Linked DNA regions of Homo sapiens: all the other regions are linked to region 1. The links are contacts of gene promoters, found by promoter capture Hi-C in blood cells and fetal thymus (Javierre and others, 2016). All regions are on one chromosome and are shown on one strand. The core of a region is centred on a gene start or on the middle of the fragment in contact, and the rest is flanking DNA. Distances in the headings are between cores, read along the strand shown.

The links. The method cuts DNA at HindIII sites, captures the fragments that hold promoters and counts their contacts. A CHiCAGO score of 5 or more calls a contact.
Region 2: a contact is called between a fragment that was not itself captured here and the fragment with the promoter of ZNF891 in region 1, in 2 of 17 cell types (monocytes and neutrophils). The highest score is 6.7, in monocytes.
Region 3: a fragment that was not itself captured here is called in contact with the fragment with the promoter of ZNF891 in region 1 in 1 of 17 cell types (M1 macrophages); the score reaches 5.4 in M1 macrophages.
Region 4: a contact is called between a fragment that was not itself captured here and the fragment with the promoter of ZNF891 in region 1, in 17 of 17 cell types (M1 macrophages, M2 macrophages, erythroblasts and 14 more). The highest score is 19.7, in M1 macrophages.
Region 5: a contact is called between a fragment that was not itself captured here and the fragment with the promoter of ZNF891 in region 1, in 13 of 17 cell types (erythroblasts, M1 macrophages, M0 macrophages and 10 more). The highest score is 11.6, in erythroblasts.
Region 6: a contact is called between a fragment that was not itself captured here and the fragment with the promoter of ZNF891 in region 1, in 10 of 17 cell types (non-activated CD4 T cells, total CD8 T cells, M2 macrophages and 7 more). The highest score is 9.0, in non-activated CD4 T cells.

The regions. Positions count from the first base shown.
Region 1 is chr12:133,128,746-133,131,659 of GRCh38, forward strand. ZNF891 (zinc finger protein 891) reads right to left here and starts at 1,529. Exons shown (of 2, transcript NM_001277291.2): 1 at 1,482-1,529. It overlaps ZNF10 (zinc finger protein 10), which reads left to right and starts at 1,882. Exons shown (of 5, transcript NM_015394.5): 1 at 1,882-2,009. RefSeq lists silencers at 1,145-1,324, 1,695-1,934 and an enhancer at 1,985-2,264. The HindIII fragment of the contact is 7,004 bases long and covers 917-2,914 here.
Region 2 is chr12:132,873,762-132,876,675 of GRCh38, forward strand. All of the region lies in intron 3 of CHFR (checkpoint with forkhead and ring finger domains), which reads right to left. Among named protein-coding and RNA genes, the nearest start is that of CHFR, 12 kb to the right of the region's middle. RefSeq lists enhancers at 1-123, 124-819, 820-1,515. The HindIII fragment of the contact is 2,084 bases long and covers 450-2,533 here.
Region 3 is chr12:132,900,103-132,903,016 of GRCh38, forward strand. It overlaps the pseudogene LOC647503. Among named protein-coding and RNA genes, the nearest start is that of CHFR-DT, 14 kb to the left of the region's middle. RefSeq lists an enhancer at 1,656-1,825 and a cis regulatory region at 1,741. The HindIII fragment of the contact is 6,341 bases long and covers 1-2,914 here.
Region 4 is chr12:132,918,436-132,921,349 of GRCh38, forward strand. ZNF605 (zinc finger protein 605) reads right to left here. Exons shown (of 5, transcript NM_183238.4): 5 at 1-2,914. Among named protein-coding and RNA genes, the nearest start is that of CHFR-DT, 32 kb to the left of the region's middle. The HindIII fragment of the contact is 1,483 bases long and covers 745-2,227 here.
Region 5 is chr12:132,937,221-132,940,134 of GRCh38, forward strand. All of the region lies in intron 3 of ZNF605 (zinc finger protein 605), which reads right to left. Among named protein-coding and RNA genes, the nearest start is that of ZNF605, 18 kb to the right of the region's middle. The HindIII fragment of the contact is 7,051 bases long and covers 1-2,914 here.
Region 6 is chr12:133,000,461-133,003,374 of GRCh38, forward strand. The region is part of intron 1 of ZNF26 (zinc finger protein 26); the gene reads left to right. Among named protein-coding and RNA genes, the nearest start is that of ZNF26, 16 kb to the left of the region's middle. The HindIII fragment of the contact is 2,223 bases long and covers 416-2,638 here.

The DNA.
Region 1 (2,914 bases), core at 279-2,778:
TCACGCCACTGCACTCCAGCCTGGAGACAGAGTGAAACTCTGTCTCGAAAAAAAAAAAAAAGTAGAAAAACAGAGACAAAGTAAAAGAAAAATTTAAAAATTAAGAGCAAAACTTACTGTAATAGGACCCCCCTCCCCAAAAAAGACCAAAACAAAACAACAAAAAAACCAAAACCAAATCTACATTTTTGAAAAGACTATGTACACATATACCTTATAGGAGTAATCAAGAAAAAAAGGCCTAGATAATTAGGTTCAAAAAAGAAAAAAATAACAATTACAGCAGTAAAATATTAAAAAGTGGTGATTTTAAAAATCACCATAGAAATTACTTACAGTGATAAAATAGCATGGGCAATTTTATGCCAATAAATTTGAAAAATTAGATTAAAAACAATTATCTAGGAAAGGTATCTAAAACAGAATACGAACTAAAAAACCTAATCAATGAGACTTTTTAAAAAATTGAGTCAGGGCCGGGTGCGGTGGCTCACGCTTGTAATCTCAGCGCTTTGGGAGGCCGAGGCAGGCTGATCACCTGAGGTCGGGAGTTCCAGACCAGCCTGACCAACATGGAGAAACCCCATCTCCACTAAAAATACAGAATTAGCTGGGCGTGGTGGCTCATGTCTGTAATCCCGGCAACTCACAAGACTGAGGCAGAAGAATCACTTGAACCCGGGAGGCGGAGGTTGCTGTGAGCCAAGATGGCGCCATTGCACTCCAGCCTGGGCAACAAAGAGCGAAACTCTGTCTCAAAAAAAAAAAAAAAAAAAATTGAGTCAGAAGTTAAATGCGTACTAAATATTTTAAGACCAAATAGCACCAAACTTTTGGAGGCGGGCGGGGGGCGGTGAGGGGTGGTGACCTGTTTTACAGAATAGAAGAGAGACTGTGCTGTCCAAATTATTCATGAAGCTTGTAAAATCTTGTTAGTATAACGGGCAAGGATAGTACACAAAAAGATTAAAACACAATCTTGTGAGCATAGGTGAAGTCAAAGGGAAACAGCCAATTGAATACACCAGAGTATTAAAGAAATAAAACCATATCGCATTCAACCACAGTATAAGGCAATAGGTGAAAAAAACGATGGCTGTGATTCAACTCATTACTAGGTTTAGAGATTCAAGAGAGGCTGCTGGACAGAGGCGTGCACCCTTTAGCCCTCCCGTGTTGCTTAGAGAAGGAGGCAAACGCGCATCCCCGGCCCCCCAGCGCTCCCTGCGTGGCACCCGCAGCCAGCCCGGGACCCCTCCGCCCCGCGCGCCCCTGGTCCCCACTCGCTCCCCGCGCTCCACTCGCACCCGGTAAGTAGCCCCTCCTCCCTCAAGGGCCTCTCCCACCGCCGCCTCCCGGGCAGGCTCCCTGCTGCTCAGACTCCCGTGAGGCGATCCCTGCACGCAGGAGAACTCAGCGGGCCAGGCTGATCCCACGAGGGACTTGTCCCGGGTGAACGAGCCACAGGCCCGCATGCTCACCCGTCCTCAGTGCCTGCCTCCAGGCGTCCGCGGTCCCGCCCGAGGGGGACGCGAGGCCGAACTACGTTTCCCAGGAGCTCCTGCGCCGCCCCGCAGAGGGGCCTGGTCTGTGCGTCACGGACGCGCTCTGGGCCGAAGGCCCGCAGGGTCCGGCACAGAGTGGCGGCTGCGGCGCCGGCGACGAATCGCCGGCTCTAGGGTCCCGGGGCGCGCGGCTGACGGGCTGGGGGCGGAGCGTGGCCTGAACGCCAGGCTGGGGCGCGTGCGTAACGGTGTGTGTTGTGGGTGCGTGTGCGTGCGTTCGCAGCAGGGGCGGGCGTAGGACCAATGGGGGCGGGGCGCGTGCGCGTGCGTGACGTCAGGCCACGGGGAGGTGGCGCCGCCGTGCCGAGCCGGCCTCAGACTCACCTCTGACGCCGCTCTTCGCGCTCCGCTGGTGAATGGAGTCGCGTTCTCTGTTTTGCTGTTGCTGCTGCCTTTGTGACGGGATCGCTTTCTCCCATCGAACCTTCTAGTTGCTTATTGCAGGTATATACGAAAGTGCTGAATTTTGTGTTTGCATCGTCATCAGGCGCGTGTTGAGCCCTTTAGTAATGTAGCAGTGTATTAGCTTCGTATTTCTAGGTAGACGGTAATTTCGTCAATGAAAAAATTTAACGGTGATCGTCACCCCTTGCCTCAGTCACTTTCTGTCCCTCGCGCGGCCCCGGCGTTCACGGCGGACGTTCTTGTTCTGTGGAGAATAACGGCTGCACCTGGAGATTGACGCAGAGTGGGCGGCGGTGGTGGTAAGTTTGAACCAGATATTTTCAGTAATACAAAATAAGGTTTCTTCTAGTCTAACTTCCATTTTTCCCCCCAGCTGGGATAGATGTTTAAAATTTTGCATATGGCCTTTCTAGTATTTGTTGAAATAGTGACGCCGATTCGTGTGTGGTCTTTTAAAAACAAATCCTGCATCTCTAGCTCTTAGCTTCCTCATCTTTGTTTTGTTTTTTAATCAGATAGATTAACTGAAGGCGTGTTTGTGTGGTTAATCTATTTTTTTTATTTTCAGAGACAGATCATAAGTTTAATTACTATATTTTTATTTTCCCTTGACACTAGATATATATACGCCATCTAACACATAATATGAGTGTCAAAGATAAGGTTAACATCAAGATTTCGTACGTAGATCCCACCCAAAGTGTATGCAGAAGGTGAACAATTTCAATTCCAGCTATACATTAATTGCAGAAAGATACTGTTAATTAAAAAAAAAAAAGTAAAAGGGAAGGCAGGATGTCACCCAGAATGCCAGCCAACAAGTGTTATTAGGTTAGAAATGACTGCAGTTAGGTCTCCGAGAACTGGATAGCACAAATCCTCCCTACCCTTTTGAAAATTACCTCCACACTAACTTTTCTCTTGTGACATAACTAATCTCTTCT
Region 2 (2,914 bases), core at 242-2,741, 260 kb before region 1:
TGCAGGGGGCTGGAGCCAATCCCCCCAGATGCCGAGGGGCGACTGCAGCCATCACTCATCCTCCTGTTCTTTCCAAACAAAAATCTGATTATTTCACTCCTCCGCTTACACCCCTTTGATGACTCCTCACTGCTCTCAGGCTAAAGCCCAAGCTCCCTTGTGTGACTTTGCCGCTCACCACACGCTCCGACCACACAGCCCTGCTTATGCTCAGGGGCCCCTACACACGTGGTTCCTTCTGCCTGAGCACCCCTCCCCTCCAGCCCACCTCTGCCAAGGAACGTGGCACCTCTGGAACCTGGAAAAGGCAGAGAACAAATTCTCCCCTGGAGCCTCCAGAAGAAACCAGCCCTGTTCAGACCTGGATTTTAGCCCCATCAGACCCATATCGGACTCTGGACCTCCATAACTATAGTAAGACAGCAAATTTGTGTTTTTTAAATCCATTAAGCTTGTGGTAAATTACAATAGCCATAAGAAAGTACCACCACCATGCAGTCAGCACAGGGATGCCATGCCCTGAAGCAGGCGGGACGGCCCAGGACCAGCACCCAGCGTGGGGAAGCCAGGCCCTGGAACAGGCAGGGAGGCCCAGGACCAGCATTCAGCGCAAGGAAGCCAGGCCCTGGAACAGGTAGAAAGGCCCAGGACCAGCACCCAGCGCGGGGAAGCCAGGTCCTGATGTAGGCGGGAAGGCCCAGGACCAGCACCCAGCACAGGGAAACCAGGCCCTGGAACAGGTGGGAAGGCCCAGGACCAGCACCCAGCGCGGGGAAGCCAGGCCCCGGAACAGGCGGGACTGCCCAGGACCAGCACCCAGCGTGGGAAAGCCAGGCCCCAGAACAGGCGGGACTGCCCAGGACCAGCACCCAGCGCGGGGAAGCCAGGCCCCGGAACAGGCGGGACTGCCCGGGACCAGCACCCAGCGCGAGGAAGCCAGGCCCCGGAACAGGCAGGAAGGCCCGGGACCAGCACCCAGCGCGGGGAAGCCAGGCCCTGGAACAGGCGGGACTACCCAGGACCAGCACCCAGCGTGGGGAAGCCAGGCCCTGGAACAGGCGGGACTGCCCAGGACCAGCACCCAGTGCAGGGAACCCAGGCCCTGGAACAGGCGGGACTGCCCAGGACCAGCACCCAGCGCGGGGAAGCCAGGCCCTGATGTAGGCGGGAAAGCCCAGGACCAGCACCCAGCACGGGGAAGCCAGGCCCTGATGTAGGCGGGAAAGCCCAGGACCAGCACCCAGCGTGGAGAAGCCAGGCCCTGATGTAGGCAGGAAAGCCCAGGACCAGCACCCAGCATGGGGAAGCCAGGCCCTGAAGCAGGCGGGACAGCTAGGGACCAGCACCCTGCCTTTCCCATTGTGCCAAGAAATAGAGAACTTAATCTGATATCTATTAGACTAGGAAACGGAGCATCAGTTCTTCCTATTAAAACCTACTTCCTAGTCTTCTATCCCTGAAACTATCAGTTACCAAAGAATCTCACAGAGCCTGATCTTTACCAAACAAAAAAAATCCTGCAGTGAGAACAGCACACTCTCAACATACTGCTAGAAGACCACCTGCCACTTGCAGCAGATTTAAAAGACGCACATTCTGGCCGGGTGTGGGGGCTCACACTTGCAATCCCAGCACTTGGGGAGGCTGAGGCAGGTGGATCACCTGAGGCCAGGAGTTCAAGTCCAGCCTGGCTAGCATTGTGAAACCCCATCTGAGCTAGGCGTGGCGGCGGGCACCTGTAATCCCAGCTACTCGGGAGGCTGAGGCAGGAGAATCGCTTGAACCCGGGTGGCGGAGGTTGCAGTGAGCCGAGATCGCACCAACAGCACTTCAGCCTGAGCCACAGAGCGAGACTCCGTCTCAAAAAAGAGAAAAAAAGGAATAGGCACATTCTGAGTAACACTGACACAGACTTCCCTTCCGAGAAATCATCCCAAGAAAACAGACATGAAGGCAGAGTTTGGGAAAGAGTCACTGCAGTGTTATTTATAGTAAGAAAAAGTCAAAACAATAAATGTCCACCAATAAGGGAAGTGACAAAGAAACTATCCTAAGATAATGAAAAGATGAGCTGGATGTAGATGCAGTGACATGTGAAGCGCTCCATAAAACACCGTAAGTGAAAAAAGCTGGCCGGGCGCGATGGCTCACGCCTGTAATCCCAGCACTTTGGGAGGCTGAGGCAGGCAGATCACCTGAGATCAGGAGTTCGAGACCAGCCTGGCCAGCATGGTGAAATCCCGTCTCTACTAAAAACACAAAAAAATAGCCGGGCTTGGTAGTGTGTGCCTACAATGCCAGCTACTCGGGAGGCTGGGGCAGGAGAATGGCTGGAACCTGGGAGTCGGAGGTCGCAGTGAGCCGAGATCGTACCACTGCACTTCAGCCTGCAACACAGTGAAACTCCATCTCAAAAAAAAAAAAGAAAGAAAGAAAAAAGCTGACGCTACAACAGTATGTGTAGTGTGATTGCATTTATGCAAAATATATATACCAACATATGCATTTTTAACGTATGAATAGGATTTTGGAAAGCTTTCCACTTTCCAAGTTGAATATCCCTAAGCTGAATGTCCCTAATCAGAAATGTGAAATCCAAAACTTTTTGAGCACCAACAAGACACTCAAAAAAATACTCACTGGAACATTTCAGAATTTTGATTCAGACATGCTCAACTGGTAAGTATAATGAAAATATTCTAAAATCTGAAACAATCCAAAATCTAAACAGTCTAGTTTCAATCATTTCAGATACTCAATCTGTACTTCAGTTGTACAAGAACGAGAATTTATTAGTTTTAAAAAATGATTTTTTGATTTGAGGGAAAGAAATCAAACTTGAATAGGCTTGCAAGAACCAAAAATTACCAGCATCTTTTAAGTCTTATTTCTGAGACATACTTAATTTGAATAC
Region 3 (2,914 bases), core at 262-2,761, 230 kb before region 1:
AACGAGGCCACCAAAACCCTTAACAGGGGCATCTCTGAGTTCATCGTGATGGCTGCAGACACCGAGCCACAGGAGATCATTCCGCACCTCCACTGCTGTGTGAAGACAAGAACGTGCCCTTCATATTTGTGCGCTCCAAGCAGGCCCTGGGAAGAGCCTGTGGGGTCTCCAGGCCTGTCATCACCTGTTCTGTCACCATCAAAGAAGGCTCACAGCTGAAACAGCAGATCCAATCCATTCAGCAGTCCATCAAAAGGCTCTTAGTCTAAACCTGTGGCCTCTGCCACGTGCTCCCTGCCAACTTGTCCCCCGAGGTTGTGTATCATATTGTCTGTGTTAGCATGTAGTATTTTCAGCTACTCTCTATTGTTATAAAACGTTGAAGTCAAAAAAAAAAAAAAAAAAAAAAAGAAGAGTAATTATCTGCAGACAATGTCAGGGCTTTGCACCAAAATCCTAAAAGTCTACATTGTGATTCTCCTATGCGGGCCTGCCAAGGCTCCACCCAGCATCGCTCTCTGCCACTGACATGTCAAGCACCATTGGATCTGCTGGGTCATGTGACCAAGTGGTAGAGCACCTTGCACAACAGCCTGCATCTGTTGCAGAGCCTTCACTTGTTCTGGGCCCCACTCAAAACTAGCAGCTGGCTGGGAGCTCAAGCCTGTCATCCCATCACTTTGGGAAGCCAAGGTGGGTGGATTGCCTGAGCTCAGGAGTTCGAGACCAGCCTGGCCAACATGGTGAAACCCCGTCTCCACCAAAAATACAAAAAATTAGCCGGATGTGGTGATGCACACCTGTACTAGGGAGGCTAATGTAGGAGGCTAAGGTGGGAGGATTGCTTGAGCCCGGGAGGTGGAGGCTGCAATGAGCCATGATAGCACCACTGGACTCCAGCCTGGGCAACAGAGTGAGACCCTGTCTCAAAAAACAAACAAAAAAAACCCATTTATTTATTTATTTATTTGTTTTTGAGACAGAGTCTCACTCTGTCACCTAGGATGGAGTGCAGTGGCACAATCTCGGCTCACTGCAACCTCTGTCTCCAGGGTTCAAGCAATTCTCCCCCGCCTCAGCCTCCTGAGTACCTGAGATTACAGGTGCCCACCACCAGGCCCAACTAATTTTTGTATATTTAGTAGAGATGGGGTTTTGCCATCTTGGCCCGGCTGGTCTCCAACTCCTGACCTCAGGTGATCCGCTAGTCTCGGCCTCCCAAAGTGCTGGGATTACAGGCGTGAGCCACCACACCTGGCCACAGAAAACCTTTTGAGATAGTCAGTGAGTCATAAAAAATTATCAAACATGGAAATTCTCTTAAGTGAAAATGAAGTGAGCTAATAAGTACATTTTTAAAAGATTACTGATGGGCTGGGTGCGGTGGCTCATGCCTGTAATCCCAGCACTTTGGGAGGCTGGGATGGGCAGATCACAAGGTCAGGAGATCAAGACCATCCTGCCCGACCTGATGAAACCTTGTCTCTACTAAAAAATACAAAAATTAGCCAGATGTGGCAGCGCACTCCTGTAGTCCTAGCTACTCGGGAGGCTGAGGCAGGAGAATTGCTTGAACCCGGGAGGCGCAGGCTGCAGTGAGCCGAGATCGGCCACTGCACTCCAGCCTGGGTACAGAGCGAGAGACTCTGTCTCAAAAAAAAAAAAAAAAAGATTACTGAGGAATTTGCTTCTATTAAAACCAGAAAAGTAAAATTACCTTTTACATTTTCTTTTTTTTTTTTTTTGAGACAGAGTTTCGCTACTGTTGCCCAGGCTGGAGTGCAGTGGCGCAATCTCGGCTCACCACAACCTCCACCTCCCTGGTTCAAGCGATTCTCCTGCCTTAGCATCCCCAGTAGCTCGGATTACAGGCATGTGCCACCACACCCAGTTAATTTTATATTTTTAGTAGAGACAGGGTTTCTCCATGTTGGCCAGGCTGGGCTCGAACTCCTGACCTCAGGTGATCTGCCTGCCTTGGCCTCCCAAACTGCTGGGATTACAGGCATGAGCCACCGTGCCCAGCCCTTTTTTTTTTTTTTTTGAGATGGAGTCTTGCTCTGTTGCCCAGGCTGGAGTGCAGTGGCATGATCTCGGCTCACTGCAACCTCTTCCGCTTCCCAGTTTCAAGCAACTCTCCTGTCTCAGCCTCCTGAGTAGCTGGGATTACAGGCATGCACCACCACACCCGGCTAATTTTTGTATTCTGGTCTCGAACTCCTGACCTTAGGTGATCTGCCTGCCTCAGCTTCCCAGAGTGCTAGGATTTTCCTTTTTTTTTTTTTTTTTTTTTTGTAAGTGAAAGCAAGTTTATTAGAGATGTAAAGAAACAAAAGAATAGCTACTCCACAGGCAGAGCAGCCTATATTTTCCTTTTGATATGAACTTTTTTTTTTTTTTTGAGATGGAGTCTCATTCTATTGCCCAGGCTGGAGTGCAGTGGCGGGATCTGGGATCACTGCAACCTCTGCCTCCCGGGTTCAAGCGATTCTCCTGCCTCAGCCTCCCTAGTAGCTGGGACTACTGGCATGCACCACCATACCCAGCTGCTTTTTTTTGTATTTTTAGTAGAGACAGGGTTTCACCATGTTGGCCAGGCTGGTCTTGAACTCCTGACCTCAGGTGATCTGCCTGCCTTGGCCTCCCAAAGTGCTGGGATTACTGGTGTGAGCCACTGTGCCCAGCCGCTATGAACTATTTTAAGTGGAAATAATGATTTTTATTCTATTTTATTATTTTTTATTTTGAGACAGAGTCTTGCTCTGTTGCCCAGGCTGGAGTGCAATGGCGCAATCTCGGCTGACTGCAACCTCTGCCTTCTGGGTTTAAGCAATTCTCCTGCCTCAGCCTCCCGAGTAGCTGGGACTACAGGCGCGTGCCACCACGCCCGGCTAATTTTTGTATTTTTAGTAGG
Region 4 (2,914 bases), core at 236-2,735, 210 kb before region 1:
AAGTGTCAGTAACAGGTCTGACCTCGCACAGCTGCCCATGCAATGATGAGTGGATCAAACACTACGGCTTATACAAGATGCTCCTCACAGAATGAAAAACAGCTGCTCATTTTCAGTTAGCTATTAGCCTTTTAGCCCCACCCTTGTTTTCTCTTTTTTTGAGACGGAGTCTCACTCTGTTGCTCAGGCTGGAGTGCAGTGGTGGTGCCATCTTGGCTCACTGCAACCTCCAACTCCTGGGTTCATGTGATTTGCCCACCTCAGCCTCCCGAGCAGCTGGGTTTACAGGTGCTCCACCACACCCGGCTATTTTTTTTGTTTTGTATGTTTAGTAGAGATAGGGTTTTGCCATGTTGGCCAGGCTGCTCTTGAGCTCCTGAACTCAAGTGATCCACCCACCTTGGCCTCCCAAAGTGCTGGGATGACAGGCGTGAGCCATCGCACCTGGCCAGCCTTACCCTTGTAATGAAGCAGTGAAGTACAGCTGGCCCACATCTCAGCCAACATCATCTTCTTACAGAATCTGCTTCATACAAACGCATTACACACAACAGGACACAATGCACATGCCTTGTTCATACCCTCAGAGCTGCCTGGCAAATACCATGGTTTGGGGACGAATCTACACTAGACCTGCCTGGCTGCAGTGGTAACACTCCATTGCCTAACTGCTCCTTTCACATGAGCACGCACTAATGAAAATAAAAAGTTAATTCACTTCTCCCACCCCCTATTGTAAGTTTAAGCTTGATTTGTTTTTTTAAGTACTTTTAGTGATAGGAATGCTTACTTGCTTTATTAATTATTTTTGTGGAGAACAAAGTGCCACTATGTTGCCCAGGCTGGCCTCAAACTCTTGGGCTCAAGCTCTCCTCTCCTCCCAGCTGGGCCTCCCAAAGTCCTGGGATTGCAGGCATGAGCCACCACATCTGGCCAGTAATGCCTTTTTTTTTTTTTTTTTTTTTTTTGAGATGGAGTCTCGCTTTGTCGCTCAGGCCAGAGTGAGTGCAGTGGCGCGATCTCAGCTCACTGCAAGCTCCGCCTCCCGGGTTCACGCCATTCTCCTGCCTCAGCCTCCCGAGTAGCTGGGACTACAGGCGCCCGCCACCACGCGCGGCTAATTTTTTGTATTTTTAGTAGAGACGGGGTTTCACCTTGTTAGCCAGGATGGTCTCAATCTCCTGACCTCGTGATCCACCCATCTTGGCCTCCCAAAGTGCTGAGATTACAGGCATGAGCCACCATGCCCGGCCCTGGCCAGTAATTCTTAAATGAGAACTTCAAGTTATAAATGTCCCTTCACTTACATTTCTTTTCATCTTAACAGTGAATGCCTCGATAGCTACATTCTTTTTGCTGTGCACATTTCGAGATTTAGGTATCACTAAATAAGTTTGGTGTTCCCTGTTTTTTTGTGTGTGTGTGTGATGGAGTCTTGCTCTGTCACCCAGGCTGGAGTGCAGTGGTGTGATCTCAGCTCACTGCAACATCGGCTTCCTGGGTTCAAGCGATTCTCCTGCCTCAGCCTCCGGAGTAGCTGGGACTACACACGTGCCACCAAGCCCGGCTAATTTTTGCATTTTTAGTAGAGATGGGGTTTCACCATATTGGCCAGGCTGGTCTCGAACTCCTGACCTTGTGATCTGCCTGCCTTAGCCTCCCAAAGTGTTATGATTACAGGTGTGAGCCACCGCGCCCAGCGCCTGATTTATTTATTTTTTTGAGACAGAGCCTCGCTCTATCACCCAGGCTGGAGTGCAGTGGTGTGATCTTGGCTCACTGCAAGCTCCACCTCCCAGGTTCACGCCATTCTCCTGCCTCAGCCTCCTGAGTAGCTGGGACTACAGGCGCTGGCCACCTCACCTGGCTAATTTTTTGTATTTTTAGTAGAGACGGGGTTTCACCGTGTTAGCCAGGATGGTCTCGATCTCCTGACCTCGTGATCCACCCGCCTTGGCCTCCCAAAGTGCTGGGATTACAGGCGTGAGCCACCGCGCCTGGCCTGGTTTATTTAATGTTAGCATTCTGACAAGATGTTAAATGACCCGGATACAATGAGTAATAATTGTGTTCTAAGTTGCAAAGATCCCATAAGGGAAATAAAGAATTATTAAATATCATCACCAACTTCACAGATTTGGTCTCAAAGTAAATCTGCTACATACTAAATAATTTAAATTAATATGGTGATGGAGTGTGTGGCGTTGGAAGAAAACTTGTTGAAGAAAGCTTACTTTATTTTTATTCATTTAAGAGGCAAGGTTTCACTCTGTCACTCAGGCTGGAATGCAGTGGCCCCATCATGGCTCACTGCAGCCTTGAACTCCTGGGCTCAAGTGACCCTTCTGCCTCAGCTTCCCAAGTAGCTGGGATTACAGACATGCACCATCATGGCTAACTTTTTTTTTGAGATGGAGTTTTGTTCTTGTTGCCCAGACTGGAGTGCAATGCCGTGATCTCGGCTCACTGCAACCTCCTCCTCCCAGGTACAAGTGATTCTCTTGTCTCAGCCTCCCAAGTAGCTCGGATTACAGGCATGTGCCACCATGCCCGGCTAATTTTTTTGTATTTAGTAGAGACGGGGTTTCACCATGTTATTCAGGCTGGTCGCGAACTCCTGAACTCAGGTGATCCACCCACCTCGGCCTCCCAAAGTGCTGGGATTACAGGCTTGCGTCACTGCACCCAGCCTCTCATGGCTAATTAAATTTTTTTTTTGTAGAGATGAGTCTTGCTATGTTGTCCAGCTGGTCTCAAACGCCTGGGCTCAAGCGGTCCTCCCAATTTGGCCTCCCCAAGCACTGGGATTACAGGTGTGAGACACCACCCCCAGTTGAAAAGTTACTTTGGATATAACTGATTTGAATTTTATTCTTGTGAAATAGTGATGAGATTTTATATTGTCTACTTCTAA
Region 5 (2,914 bases), core at 255-2,754, 190 kb before region 1:
TGGTGACACGCACCTGTAATCCTACCTACTGGGAAGGCTAAGGGAGGATAATTGCTTGAACCCAGGAGGCAGAGGTTGCAGTGAGCCGAGATGGTGCCATTGCACTCCAGCCTGGGCGACAAGAATGAAACTCTGTCTCAAAAAAAAAAAAAAAAAAAAAGAAAATGTATGGATGGAAAGTAAATATATGAAAAGATGTTCAATATATCTGTCAAAAGGTGAATGCAAATTAAAACTATAATGAAAAACTACTATGTACTTATTAGAAGGCTAAAACTAAACACACACACACACAGACACACACACACACACACACCCCTGACAAATATCTGTGAGGACTCAGAGCAAGAGCAACTGTCATTCATTGTGGTGGGAATGTAAAATGTACAGCAGCTTTTGAAAACATTTTGGCAGTTTCTTATAAAGTTGAACACAGACTTACCACACAACGCAGCAATTCCACTCCTAGGTGTTTACTCAAGTAGTGAACTGAAAACTTACATTCACCTGAAAATTTATATTCAAACCTATATGCAGATGAATGCTTTATTCAAAACTGCTAAAAAGTGGAACAATTAAGATGTCCTTCAATAAGTGAATGGATAGAGACTGTGGCCCATCCATACATGGGATCATATTCAAGGGAATCACACGCCAAGAAAAAGGAAGAAACTACCGATAAGATATGAATGAATCTCAAAGGTATGCTAAGTGAGAAAAGCCACTGTCAAAAGGTCACATATGTGATCCCATTTATTTATTTATTTATTATTTATTTGAGAGGGAGTCTCGCTCTGTCGCCCAGGCTGGAGTGCAGTGGCGCGATCTCGGCTCATGGCAAGCCCCGCCTCCTGGGTTCACGCCATTCTCCTGCCTCAGCCTCCCAAGTAGCTGGGACTACAGGCGCCTGCCACTACGCCCGGCTAACTTTTTGTATTTTTAGTAGAGACGGGGTTTCACCCTGTTAGCCTGGATGATCTCAATCTCCTGACCTTGTGATCCACCTGCCTCGGCCTCCCAAAGTGCTGGGATTACAGGCAAGAGCCACTGTGCCAGGCCGATCCCATTTATTTTTTTATTTTTATTTTTTATTTTTTTGAGACAGAATCTCACTCTGTTGCCCAGGCTGGGGTGAAGTGGCACGATCTCGACTCACTGCAACCTCTGCCTCCTGGGTTCTAGCGATTCTCCTGCCTCAGCCTCCCGAGTAGCTGGGATTACAGGCACACGCCACCACACCCTGCTAATTTTTGTATTTTTAGTAGTGACGGGGTTTCTACATGTTGGTCAGGCTGGTCTCGAACTCCCGACCTCAGGTGATTTGCCCGCCTCAGCCTCCCGAAGTGCTGGTGAGAGGTGACAGCGTGCTGGCAGTCCTCAGAGCCCTCGCTTGTTCTCGGCACCTCCCCTGCCTGGGCTCCCACTTTGGTGGCATTTGAGGAGCCCTTCAGTCCCCCACTGCACTGTGGGAGCCCCTTTCTGGGCTGGCCAAGGCTGGAGCCCACTCCCTCAGCTTGCAGGGAGGTGTGGAGGGAGAGGCACGAGCGGGAACCGGGGCTGTGTGCGGCGCTTGCGGGCCAGCTGGAGTTCCGGGTGGGCGTGGGCTTGGTGGGCGCCGCACTCGGAGCAGCCAGCCAGCCCTGCTGGCCCCGGGCAATGGGGGACTTAGCACCCGGGCCAGTGGCTGCGGAGGGTGTACTGGGTCCCCCAGCAGTGCTGGCCCACCGGCGCTGCGCTCGATTTCTCACCGAGCCTTAGCTGCCTCCCCGCGGGGCAGGGCTGGGCACCTGCAGCCCACCATGCCTGAGCCTCCCACCCACTCCATGGGCTCCCATGCGGCCCCAGCCTCCCTGACGAGCACCACCCCCTGCTCCACGGCGCCCAGTCCCATCGACCACCCAAGGGCTGAGGAATGCGAGCGCACAGCGCAGGACTGGCAGGCAGCTCCACCTGCAGCCCCGGTGCGGGATCCACTAGGTGAAGCCAGCTGGGCTCCTGAGTCTGGTGGGGACGTGGAGAGTCTTTATATCTAGCTCAGGGATTGTAAATACACCAATCAGCACCCTGTGTTTAGCTCAAGGTTTGTGAGTGCACCAATCAACACTCTGTATCTAGCTGCTGGTGAGGACATGGAGAACCTTTATGTCTAGCTCAAGGATTGTAAATACACCAATCGGCACTCTGTATCTAGCTCAAGGTTTGTAAACACACCAATCAGCACCCTGTGTTTTGCTCAAGGTTTGTGAATGCACCAATTGACACTCTGTATCTAGCTGCTCTGGTGGGGCCTTGGAGAACCTGTGTGTGGAAACTCTGTATCTAACTAATCTGATGGGGACGTGGAGAACCTTTGTATCTAGCTCAGGGATTGTAAACGCACCAATCAGCGCCCTGACAAAACAGGCCACTCGGCTCTACCAATCAGCAGGATGTGGGTGGGGCCAGATAGGAGAATAAAAGCAGGCTGCCCGAGCCAGCAGTGGCAACCCGCTCGGGTCCTCTTCCACACTGTGCAGGCTTTGTTCTTTCGCTCTTTGCAATAAATCTTGCTACTGCTCACTCTTTGGGTCCACGCTGCTTTTATGAGCTGTAACACTCACCGCGAAGATCTGCAGCTTCACTCCTGAGCCAGCGAGACCACGAGCCCACCGGGAGGAACGAACACTCCAGACGCACTACCTTAAGAGCTGTAACACTCACCGCGAAGGTCTGCAGCTTCACTCCTGAGCCAGCGAGACCACGAACCCACCAGAAGGAAGAAACTCCGAACACAGCTGAACATCAGAAGGGACAGACTCCAGACGCGCCACCCGAAGAGCTGTAACACTCACCGCGAGGGTCCGCGGCTTCATTCTTGAAGTCAGTGAGACCAAGAACCCACCCATTCTGGACACACTGGGATTACAGGTGTGAG
Region 6 (2,914 bases), core at 277-2,776, 130 kb before region 1:
GTCACCCAGGCTGGAGTGCAGTGGCACGATCTTGGCTCACTGCAAGCTCCGCCTCCAGGGTTCACGCCATTCTCCTGCCTCAGCCTCCCGAGTAGCTGGGACTACAGGCGCCCGCCACCACACCCAGCTAATTTTTTGTATTTTCTGTAGAGACAGGGTTTCACCATGTTAGCCAGGATGGTCTCGATCTCCTGACCTCGTGATCCGCCCACCTTGGCCTCCCAAAGTGCTAGGATTACAGGTGTGAGCCACTGTGCCCGGCCTAATTTTTGTATTTTTAGTAGGATAGGGTTTCACTATGTTGGCCAGGCTGGTCTTGAACTCCTGATTGCAGGTGATCCACCCACCTCTGCCTCCCAAAGTGCTGGGATTACAGGCGTGAACTACCATGCCTGGCCTGTTTTCATTCGTATCAAGCTTAAAGAAATAGTAAAAGGCTTTAAATAAAATAGACAATAAGCCTCCTGGTCTACCCGCTGCTCCTGGTCTACCTGCTATCTGCTGTGCACCTTCCCTCTTCCATCCTGTGTCCCCAGAAGCAGCCACTTTGGGCTCCGTTTCGTCTTCTGCTGTCGACCTCCAGCTTCTAATATGGTCACATCGAAGTGACTTGTTTCATGTTTCTTCTCCCTCAGATTTAAAGTAACCAGCTTGATAAGCACCTCAACGTAATAAGGGCACAGTAGTGGCTTCATTTTTCTCATCACAGCCTCAGGCTTCCTGTCAGCCCTTCCCTAGTGCTCGTCGTGAGGAGAGCTGATGATGCTCTGGTCACAGCCTTGTTTGTTATTGACTCTCAGTTACTTTCAGGTATGGGAAAGTTCAGTCCACACTCTCACTCCAAGCTCTTGTACCTCCCCTCATTCTAGCCTGCAGAGGGGAGATGGAGGAGGCTTGTCTGTATTCCCACTTCATTTACTTGTTGCCCTCCGACGGGGGCTCCTTCTGGGTTGGGGTGGGAAAATCAGTGGTTAGAGAAAAAGACACAGAGTCTCCTGTTGTGCGGTGGTCAGTACCCAGAGTTATGACAGGCATCAGTGGGGCTTGGTTGGAGCCTCTGACAGGGCTCTGCCCTGCAGTTCCATGGTGTATGTGATTCTTTCTCTCACTGCATGCAGACTCACCCAGAAGTCCACTCACTGCCTCTTCCCCTGGGGTCTCCCTCCCTGCAGGTAGTGCTGCTGAGGAGGAGCCTGCTAATGAGCTCAAGTGTCAAGTTCGGGAATCTTCTGGGTGTTCCTTGGGCCCAGGGAAACAGTGCCCTGCCTGAGGTGAGCCGCAGGGAGGCGGGGCCCTGTTTGAGGTGAGCTGCTGAACCCTCACTCCCCAGCTGCCTTTTGAGAGTCCCGCGGCAGTCTTTGCCTTCAGAATTTTTCAGAGGAAAGCAGTTATTCGATCCTTGTTTACTTAAATTCTTAAGTACATGTCAGTTCCTTCTGAAAATTACCCAGATTTAGCCTGGTCGGCTGTTGCAGATGTCCAGGTTGTGTGTGGGGCACTTGCACAGTCCCCTTTTCTTAGAGCCCCTCCTGTTTGAGAGGATGGATACCCGCTTCCCTTTCTTCTCACGTGTTCTTAGCAAGGTCACTTTTCTCCTTCAGTGACTCACTTCTGTGGACTGTTTTCTGGTTGGATCTCCCCCATCTTCCGTCATTCATGGACCAGTTATTCACTATCTTCTTTCTCCGTTTGTTATCCCCAGGCTTCTCCACCTCCTTAAAGGGAAAGTTCTGTAGTTTGCTTGGCCAGGCTGCTTGGTGTCCTCCTGGCCCCCCTTCTGTCTCTCAGCGTGCCATGCTGTCTCTATCAGGTTGTGTTCTGGCTCTGTCCCCACAGGATGCCCAGAATCCAGCCACCATTTATCATCCCCATCGCTGTCACTTTGGCCTACACTGCCTTCTTCCACTGGACTAACACAGTTGCCTTCTAACTGGTCTCCCCGGTATCTCCTCTTACACAACCCCCTCCCTCTTCCACAGCAGTCAGGATGATCTCAAAATACCAGTCAGAGCGAGAAGCCTTTCAGTGGCTTCTCACAGCGCTTGCATTTCTGCCTAGGTATAACCTCATCAGAGAGCTGCCCTGATCACCGTGTCTGAAACAGCACCTGTGCCTCCCTCTGTCTCATGACTCTGTCCCTTACCTGCTTGGATTTTTTGTTTGTTTTTTGTTTTTTTGTTTTGAGATGTAGTCTTCTGTGTCGCCCAGGCTGGAGTGCAGTGGTGCGATTTCTACTCACTGCAACCTCCACCTCATGGGTTCAAGCGATTCTCCTGTCTCAGCCTCCTGAGTAGCTGGGGTTGCAGGTGTACACCAGCATGCCTGGCTAATTTTTGTGTTTTTAATAGAGACAGAGTCTCACCATATTGGCCAGGCTGGTCTCGAACTCCTGACCTCAGGTGATCCACCCGCCTTGGCCTCCCAAAGTGCTGGGATTACAGGTGTGAATCACCATGCCCAGCCTGGATTTTGTTAAGAGTACCTAGCACCCCTGGCATGTTAGGTAGTCATGTGTTGGCTGAGTAACACCCACCCTGGAGACCCTAGGTGGGTGGGACCTGGGAGCCTAATTCATATACTGCTTTTAGCTGTTTACAGTTCACACCTCATTCTCATCATGCAGGATGACTGTTCCCAAAGCTTTTGGGGCTTCTGTGGGAGAGATGGTTTGCTGTGCATCAGCTTACCTCTGGGAGAGCTTTTGCTCACGGAAGTCAGTTACCAGATTTTTGGCTTACTGTTTATTAAAAATTTATCAAAATATCATATTGGCTTCTGTTTATGTAGTTCCCTTTTCTTTTTTTTTTTTTTTTGAGATGGAGTCTCGCTCTGTTGCCCAGCTGGAGTGCAGTGGCGCAATCTCGGCACACTGCAAGCTCTGCCTCCTGGGTTAACGCCATTCTCCTGCCTCAGC